Regions from separate parts of the Homo sapiens genome. Here region 2 is linked to region 1. The links are contacts of gene promoters, found by promoter capture Hi-C in blood cells and fetal thymus (Javierre and others, 2016). All regions are on one chromosome and are shown on one strand. Each heading gives the region's core, a stretch centred on a gene start or on the middle of the fragment in contact. The rest is flanking DNA. Distances are from core to core; before and after follow the strand shown. Region 1 holds the start of CIDEA (cell death inducing DFFA like effector a). Region 2 has its middle 42 kb from the start of ANKRD62.

The links. Contacts are between HindIII fragments. The CHiCAGO score rates a contact against its expected background, and 5 or more counts as called.
Region 2: a contact is called between a fragment that was not itself captured here and the fragment with the promoter of CIDEA in region 1, in 2 of 17 cell types (erythroblasts and megakaryocytes). The highest score is 6.1, in erythroblasts.

What each region holds. Positions count from the first base shown.
Region 1 is chr18:12,251,774-12,256,389 of GRCh38, forward strand. CIDEA (cell death inducing DFFA like effector a) reads left to right here and starts at 2,588. Exons shown (of 5, transcript NM_001279.4): 1 at 2,588-2,648. The coding sequence starts at 2,611. It overlaps LOC105371996 (a long non-coding RNA gene), which reads left to right and starts at 3,240. Exons shown (of 2, transcript XR_935158.3): 1 at 3,240-3,658; 2 at 3,806-4,616. RefSeq lists an enhancer at 1,724-2,330. The HindIII fragment of the contact is 8,350 bases long and covers 1-3,033 here.
Region 2 is chr18:12,049,391-12,054,129 of GRCh38, forward strand. No RefSeq gene overlaps it. Among named protein-coding and RNA genes, the nearest start is that of ANKRD62, 42 kb to the right of the region's middle. RefSeq lists an enhancer at 1,171-1,360. The HindIII fragment of the contact is 667 bases long and covers 2,876-3,542 here.

The DNA.
Region 1 (4,616 bases), core at 1,338-3,837:
CCTCCCTGAGGGTGTGGGTGTCAGGTGGAGCCCACTGTTCACAGCTGCACAGGCTCTGTGACAACAAACATTTGGTGAATTGAACTAAAAAGCTGGGTTCCCAATCCTGGTTGCCCGGGCACAGAGTAGTTGTTGAACATGGATGAATGAAACCTGTCGAGTGAGAGTGGAATGAATTTGTGTGCTGGAGACGAGAATATGCTGGAAGGCTGGGCATGACTCGCACTGTTGTCTTCTCCATCATCTGTTGGGTTTGCAGCCAAGTCCCCTGGAGCTCAGTCTGCCCTCTGCCCTCTCCCACCTCTCCCCACCACCCTCCTAGCGCAGCACTCCAGGATTCCCACTCAGCAGCAGGGCAGTGACCGACTTTTACTCCCAGCCTGAAGATCTGCATGAGAACCAATGCACACCAGGGCTATGCTGCCTCCGTGACCAAGGGGTCCCCAGGGCCTGGTCTCACCACCATCTCCGCTTCCACCACAGACTTGCTCCCGTCCAGGATTCCTCATCTCTCCAGTCTCCCAAGCTCAAAACCCCAGGGTGATCTCCTGCTGGGTCCCTTCTGCCATCGCCATGGCCTGGAAATGTTTGCTAGTCCCCACCCCACCCCCATGTCCACACTCAGTGCCCAGGTCTTTATTTTTATTTTGTTAGAAGTGATAATGTCACTATGGTTATGTATGAGATCATGTCCTTGTTTCTCCAGAGATGCAAGCTAAAGGATTTAATTTGGAAGGGTTCAAATTCAAATATAAAGAACAAAGAAATATGTCAAAATGTTAACAGTGGTTGAATCCAGGGGCTGGGTGTAAGTGTGCTCATTGTACTGTTCTCTCTTATCTATCTATCTATCTATCTATCTATCTATCTATCTATCTATCTTATATATAGATAGATAGATATATACACACAAACAGATTTTTTTCTTTCTTTAGAGAGAAAGTCTCACTCTGTTGCCCATATTGGAGTGCAGTGACATGATCACAGCTCACTGCAACCTCAAACTCCTGGGCTCAGGTGATCCTCCCTCCTCAGCCTCCTGAGTAGCTAGCACTACAGGTGCTCGCCGTCATGCTTGGCTAATTATCGTTATTTTTGTGTAGAGATAGTAGTCTCACAGTGTTACCCAGGCTGGTCTCAAATTCCTGGCTTCAAGCCATCCTCCTGTTTTGGCCTCCCAAAGTACTGGGATTACAGATGTAAGCCAGTACCCTCAGCCCTGTTCTTTCTATGTATCTCTATATTTGAACTTTTTCACAATAAAAAGGTTAGAGGTAAGTTGACCTGAATTGATTGGACCCATTTTCTCATCCATCACATTGGGGCTGTGAGTGGGAGGGGCAGTGAATGACCTCCTAAAGCTGTGTCCGCTCAGTGCCTCTGGGGGAAGCTGCCCCCTGTGAGCCTGGAGCTGGGTGTTCCCAGCAGGCGGAGTCCTTGACTCTGGAAGGCAATTGCCTTTGGCTTCAACAGTCCTGCAAGTCACAAGGCTTGTTGACCACGGTGACCCTTTCTGAGAGCCAGCGGAGGAAGAGGGCGGGCATAGGGTCAGGTCTTAAGAGATCAGGTCAGTCTGCTCAAACCAGGTGGGCTCAGGAGGAGCCGGCGAGGGTCCCGCTGCAGCTCCCGAAACGCTGTTTCCAGGCGGCAGTCAGCAGTTGGGCACGAGAGGATATCCTAGCAAGCCTCCATCCCAGAAAGTTACACCTCTTACTGCCCGAGTCCCACCCCTCAACACTGAGCCCACCTCTTCAGTCCTGTAGTGAGGGGTTCTGGGAACCCCTTGTAACTGCCCGCCTTCCTCGGAGGTCTCAGAGGCCCTAATTGCGTCTTCCGATGGGAACAACCATGAGAGCAGGGTGTGGACGGAAGTCCCCCAGCCCCAGCGGGGTTCACTCTTTGCCTCCTCACTCTGCGAGGGTCCCTTACTACAGCTAAAAGGCAATTCATGCAGTCCAAAGGCTCCTTTCCCCTCCCGTTCTGCATGCCCTTCTCACTGTCCCCAAATGCTCATGACATGGCCTTGAGAGCAGCGCAGCGGGCAGGAAGCCCAGGCGCCTCGGAGAACCTGAAGGGCTGCAGGTCCCGGTGTCTGCGGCAGCTTCCGCATCCCTGCAGGGAACCAGCGGCTCGCTGAGCCTGGGGCTGGGCTCTGGGGGACTCCAGAGCTGGAGGCAAGTGGCGCTCACATCCGTCTCCTCACCTGCCCCACCCGTGGCCTGGGTTTAAAATCCACATACCCGTCTTTCCGCGGCCAAAGTGATGCTGCCAGGATTGGTTATGACCCCAACTGCCCCGACCCCCAGAAGTGCAAAACGAACAGGCTGGCAAGTGACCAAAAGAGACCCGGGGAGCATCTGGGCTTCCAAGGTCCTCGGTACGGCCCAAGGCAGCGAAGGACGCGCGGCTCCAGGCTGCGGGAGCCAGGACGACCGGGGGCTCCCAGAGCGCGAAGTCGCGATCCTCGGCGGTGGAGAGCTCGTGCCAAAACGTCCTCCCCTGCGCCAGTCAGGCCTTCGCGGGGCTGGCAGGCGGGCGGGGGCGGGGCCGCCGCACTTTAAGAGGCTGTGCAGGCAGACAGACCTCCAGGCCCGCTAGGGGATCCGCGCCATGGAGGCCGCCCGGGACTATGCAGGAGCCCTCATCAGGCGAGTGCCCCGCGTCCCCCTGATTGCCGTGCGCTTCCAATCGCCTTGCGTTCGGTGGCCTCATATTCCCCTGTGCGCCTCTAGTACCGTACCCCGCTCCCTTCAGCCCCCTGCTCCCCGCATTCTCTTGCGCTCCGCGACCCCGCGCACACACCCATCCGCCCCACTGGTGCCCAAGCCGTCCAGCCGCGCCCGCGGGCAGAGCCCAATCCCGTCCCGCGCCTCCTCACCCTCTTGCAGCTGGGCACAGGTACCAGGTGTGGCTCTTGCGAGGTGCGCGGGCGTCTGCAAACCAGGTGACAGCTGGCGAGTGGCTGCATGCATCTCTGGCCGCTGCTGCAGTCGCGGGCGCAGAAGAGGGTCCGGTCCCAGGAACCCCGAGCAAAGCTTCCGCGATGCGAGGGGACCGGGCTTCTGGGGGTCCTGGAAATCACAACGGGAGCTGGGCGCGGGAGGGGCCCAGGCTTGGCCCCTCCTGGAAGCGCGGGCTCTGGTCTCCGAGGGGAGGCCCCAACCGTCCGGCGGAGCCCTCCAGGTTGGTGGTGCTGGGAGAAGCGCTCCTCCTTGCCTCCGGGTCCAAGGGCGGAGACGCTGCCTGGGGAGCAGGGGGGACAAGGGGCGGGTGGACCCTGAGGAGTCTTCCCTGCGCTTCGCACCCGCTCGTGGTCGAACAGGCAGCATTGGCTATTTTCCTGCTTGGGTTAATATTCATATCCCAACAGACCCAAGCCAATTCTTGGTAAAATCCTAAGTCATTGCGTGGCAGCAACTGTAAAGTAAGGTCTAAGAGGGAGATCGTGTTTCTCTGAAGATCAAGTACCTGGAAAAGGATAGAGAACCATTTGCGGGCTTGAAGGTGCAGGCGTTCAGCGGCGCCGGGTCCCACTGTGTGTGCTACGTGTGGCGGGCAGAGAGACTACATGTGTGAAAGGGAGCGGTCCGGCTACGAAACGCAATCTATGAGCTTCCAATCCCGGGTTCTTAAATGGGAGCTGTTGTAGACACTGCAGGTTAGAAGCATCTTTCTCTTTAAAAATAAGCCCACAGTACAAGTCGGGGCGGTGGCAGGGGGACGCTGAGAAACACCTGCTTCGTGTATGGTCATTAACACGCTTAGGCCTAAAGGTCAGGGCCCTGTATCTTTTGCGTTCTTCCAGAACCATCCACACCACAGTCCCACTTCCAGGAGGGGAGGTCTTAGCAGTTTGGAATGCGTCCTTCCAACCACTTTTCCAGTGAATTCACAACACACCCACTGTTCCTCCGGAGCATGGGGGAAGGAGGTGTGGGCTGACTCGCACTAACCAATCCTGGTTGGCCTCTGAGCAGGATTCAGGCTGAGCCTGTCCCTGCCTCTGACTATTATAACAGCTCACCAAAATCCAAAATGCATCTGTGTGGGGTCTCTGTGAGGTCGTGTGAAGTGGAAGTGACTTGCTTATGAGCTGTTGACAAATGAAACATTGGGAAACCTTGAGTCTCCTAGGACACATTCCTTCCAGCTTGGCTCATCCCAGGAGTGAATGACTCTACCTGTTATGGACAAGCTGTTGCTGCAGTTCTTTGAAATCTACCTGCTTCCAGGCTGAACTACTGTCATTCTGTGAAATCTACCTGCTCCCAGGCTGAACTACTGTCATTCTGTGAAATCTACCTGCTCCCAGGCTGGACTACTGTCATTCTGTGAAATCTACCTGTTACCAAACTAAACTGGAAGAAAACAATCTGTAATTCTTGTTGAAGGGAAAACACCTTTTCTTCCCTGCCCCTCTCTAAAACCCTGTCCGGGCAAAAGAGCCAGAGGCCAGGTCCTAACATATTTGCTAATTGTGCTCTTGCTGGACTTCGGCTTCCTCTCAGGGTTCCTTAATTTAAACCAGGTCCAGGATGTCATAATTCTGTCTTTATTAGTAACTACATTTTACCAAGGAAAGAACCGAATCAATGTGCACAAAAATTTTTAAAAAT
Region 2 (4,739 bases), core at 1,959-4,458, 200 kb before region 1:
TTGAAATGCAACTCTCTCTTTGATTACCAGGAAACCCCAGCTCAGGGTTCTAAATCTATCATGTACCCTTTGACATTTTTTTTCCTCCATTAACACTCACTTTATCCAAATATGCCCCCTCAGAGATGGAGTCCAAAGCTGGTTTCTGGAAGGAGACAGAGAGAGACCCCTCTGGTCCCGTGTCATAAGCCTGTGGGGCAGGTCAAGACTGCCTCTTGCCATGGCCCTTCTCTCTCTTTGGTAAACAGCAGCCTGCTCCACTTGGGAGCACACCCAATATGGCATGACTGGGATCCCACATGACTGAGGGTCCAGGATGGACATATAAGAGATTTTAAAGAAAAGTTTATCCTCCTCACCTTTTCCCTCTGCCTAGTAACAATACAATCTACACACTAGCTCCTCTAGAAAAGTCTGCACAGTGAGAACTGACTATGTGCTCCCAGCATTTAGAGACTTGCTGTAAAGCCAACCCAGGAATATCAGGGCATTTCACTGCAGATGGTCAGTTGACCAACCCCCTTTGGAAGCTATTCAACAGGTGTGACCATGGCACAATGACCTGGAAACAGGCATCTCTCACCCTTCCTCTGTTAAAAAACCTGAAATCCTGAAAAGGCAGAGCAGATACAATATTTTTACCTTTTCATTTCCATCCTAAACTTTCACCACTCCAAAAAATCTAAAATGATCTTTCATAGAATAACTCCACTTAAATGCCCTCAGAACTTTAGCTGCTATATGCGTTGGTTTGGAATGCAGTTTGAAGTATTTGAGGTTGTTCTAATTCTGCAAAATGAAAAGGGAAGCTAGGCAAATACTGAAACTTGCAACCACAATATCTCATTACTTTGCTGAATAAATTGTATAAATTTAAAATAGAAAAGTCACAGCACTCCCTGCCTAGGCCAAGTAACTATTGGTAGTGCTCACAAGCCTGCAGGGCTTGGAGGATCTCCTGATCCCAGGCAGTACCTTCAAGTCCCAAATGTTGTGGAAGTGCAAAGGATCTCCCAGGCACGCTATTAGCCTTTGCCTTTGGAGCTCCACAGCCACTATCTTATTGGAGTAGCTGTAGTTGCAGATCTCAGTTCCCTTTTTCAAGTGGCAAACCTTTAGCTTCCTCTGAGCTTTGAGGTTCAAAATGGCCACTAAGGTGCTTGACAACAATTTTCTATAATGCACGCATCTTCGGTATCAGTGCAATTCAGGGATCTGTTCCAGCTTATCCACAGAAGAAGGGAGAAAAATTTATAACTGGACTTACTACCCACAGCTAGGGATGTGTCCTTGTTGGAGTTGGCCCAGCTGGCACCGGCCTCTGATCTGGCTCCCCCGGTTCACAGCTGGGTGCACAGGGGTTGCGATGTGCTCAGGGTGTGCGCCAGTCCCACTTTCTGCCTCGGTGGCTGCCACTACCTCTCTGGGATCAGCCACAACCTTGTCCCGTCCCTCCTTGTTTTTCTAGTTTCTTGAAGTAGAAAGTTAATTATCGTTTTGAGGCCTTTCCTCTTTTCTGAGGTTAACATTTAGTGCTGTTAATTTCCCTATCAGCAGGGCTTTATTCAATTCCATGAATTTCTAAAATTTATTTTGAGGCTTTTTCTTTGATCCAAATATTATTTAGAAGTCTGTTGTTTCATTTCCAAGTGGTTGGATATTTTGCTGTTGTCTTTCTACTATGAATTAATTCATAGTTTGATTCATTTCATTATGGCCAGAAAACACACTCGGAATGATTTCAGTTCTTTTATACCTGCTGAGGTTGGTTTATGGCCCAGGATATGGTTTATCTTCCTGAATAGTCCATGAGCACTTGAGAAAAAGTGTATATTTTGCTGTTGGGCACTGTTCCGTAAATGTTGCTTCTACCCTATTGGTTGATGGTGCTCTCCTGTTCTATGTCTGCTAGTAATTTAACGCCTAGTGATTCTACCAACTGCTGAGAGTGAGGTGGTCAGACTTACAACTAGAATTTAAAATGTGCCTATTTCTCCTTTCAGCTCAGTCAGTTTTATTTTGTGTACTTTGAGGTTCTTTTGTTTGGTGGGGACATATTTAGGATAACTGCATTTTTGTTGGATTGATACTTTTATCGTTATATAGTGATCTTTTTGCCCACGAGTTTTCTTTGCTCTAGAGTCGACTTTATGTGATATCAATGGGGCCACTCTTACTTTGATTTGAATAATGTTTGTATGGTATATCTTTTTCTATTCTTTATCAACTCATGTTGTTAACTATGTTATGAATTTCCTATAAATATTTTAGAATTATGTTTCTTGTTCTTTCCACTCTGTCAATTTGTATTTTGATACACATTGATTATTTACATTTAAGATAAATATTGCTATGTTAGGCTGCTATTTTATTTGTTTTGTTTTCTCGGTTTTTCATTCATCTATTACCATTTTCTTATTTTCCTGTTGGTTATATCAACATTTTTTAGATTCCATCTTGTTTATTTGCAGTGTTTCTAAGCACAATACTCTTTATCGTTTTCTTAGCAGTTCTAGATATTAAAGTGTGCATATGTAACTTATCACAGTCTATTAGTCAGCATTTTACCACTTCAAGTGAAATGTAGAAAGCTTCATTCTACTTAGATCCCTTTACCCTCCCCCCTTTTAAATAGAATTAAGTATTTCCTCTACATACAGAGCATTTTTCTCCAAACATCAAATATGATGTCAGAAACTCATGAGAAACAGATTCTATTACATTTCCCCCTATTTCTGCCAACCTCCAATGTTCTTTCTTTCCTGTGTTCCCAGCCTTCCTGCGTTATATACTTTCTATTTAGAGAACCTCCTCTAGTCATCTTTTTAAAGGTAGGTTTGCTAGCAACATTTTCTCTTAGTTTTCCTGTCTGGTAAGCTTTTTATTTCCCTTTGTTCATGAATATAGTTTCAAAAGATAGAGAATTTTGTTATGGTTCTTTTCTTTCAGTATCTGAGAAAATGTCCTACACTTCCTTCTGGCCACCATGGATTCAGATGAGAAATCTGCCATTCTTTTATGTAGGGAATGTGTTATTTATCTCTGGTTACTCTGAAGATTTTGTCTTTAGTTTTCAAAAATTTAATTATGATTTGCCTTCACCATGGATTTATTTAAAATTATCTTATTTGATGTTATCTCAGATTCTTGAATGTGTAGTTTCATAACTTTTGCTAAATTTGGGACATTTTCAGCCATTATTTTTTAAAATACTTTAAATACCTCTCTCCTTTCCTTCTGGTACTCTGATGTTACAAATATTCGTTATATGGTTATCACCCCACTTTCTAAATATTGAGAGAATCAAATCTCGTCTCATTCCCTTTAGGCCTTTCGGTTTTGTCCAAGCCACCACAATCACTCAGGAGGGAAACGACCACAGCTCCTTAATGAGCTCTATATGTTATGCCCTGCCTAGTATTTTCTCTATAGAGAAAATATACAGAAATATAGAGAAAACTCCCATACAAACATAAACCAGACGTTGCTCATTTGTTGAAAATCTACCACTAAATTAAGAATAAAATGAATTTACTGAATAAAGCTTACGATAGGCTCACCTTTGGAGTCTACTGCCTCCTGACATCACCTCCTGCCTTCTCCCTTCAGCCACTGCGACTTTTTTTGTTATTCCTCAAAACCACCAAGCACATTCCTGCCCATGGCTAGCAGCTGCTGTTACCCCTGCTAAAAAGAGGCAGAATCCTCATGTCTCACAGTCATTTCAGTCAAATTTCTGCTCTTCTGTTGATCTCAGTAAAGTTTCCCATGACTATTCCTTCAAGAAGCCCACTCAGTCTAATCTTGCTTTATTTTTTTTAATAGTCTTTAAAACCACAGAACATTTAATATACATGAACATCTGTTTATGTGTTTAGTGCTACTTCTGTGAATTCATTTAGAGGCAAAAAATTATCAAGTCTGCACAACATACCTGAAACGATTATAATTTCTGGAAATACTAAGATTACTAAAAACCTTCTTGTATTCATGGAGCATAAAGTCTGGTAAGAAAATATGTTACAATGGTGAAAATACACAGAAGATTGGCTAATTCTATAAATAAGGAAGTAAGTTGGTTCTGTTTTGAGCTTCACTGAGGAAGCACAGCTGTTGGTTGAAGTATTAGTATGCTGTGTCCTTCATAAGCACAGAGCCATGGCACAGGCAAAGGTGGGGGCCTCCAGCACGTAAAAAATTAGCAAAAGGGCAAACAGCACAGGAGATGAGAATATGGCCTGGTGCCTTCATGAGAAAAATGGCCAGGGAAGTATTCAGGGAATGGGCTACAGAGCAACAGACTCCAAAGCATTTGATCATTTACTATTTTCTAGAATATTATTCAGCATTACAGATTTATATTTAAAAATTATAAAAATAAATAATAAATTCATTTATTATAAATAATTCTTATTTGGATTTTAAAATGAAGAAAACAGCCTAATATTTTATTTATTTTATTGCAATATGTATTCTGGGTTCTAATCCTTTAATTCAGAGACAATAAGGATGTGTAGAAAATGGAAAGATTTTTGAACTGTTATACTTGAAATTTCTGCAGAGTATATAGGAGATGACCAGTTGGATCTTTCTGAAGATCCTCTAAGTGTACGCCTCTTCTAGGGATCACTGCTATGGAAAATGGAGAGCAGAAGGTGAGACGTAAGCATAGAATGAAATCACATTGCCAGGTTTCCTCTATAGAAGCAATTCTCTTGAGAGAGGAGGGAATAGATAAA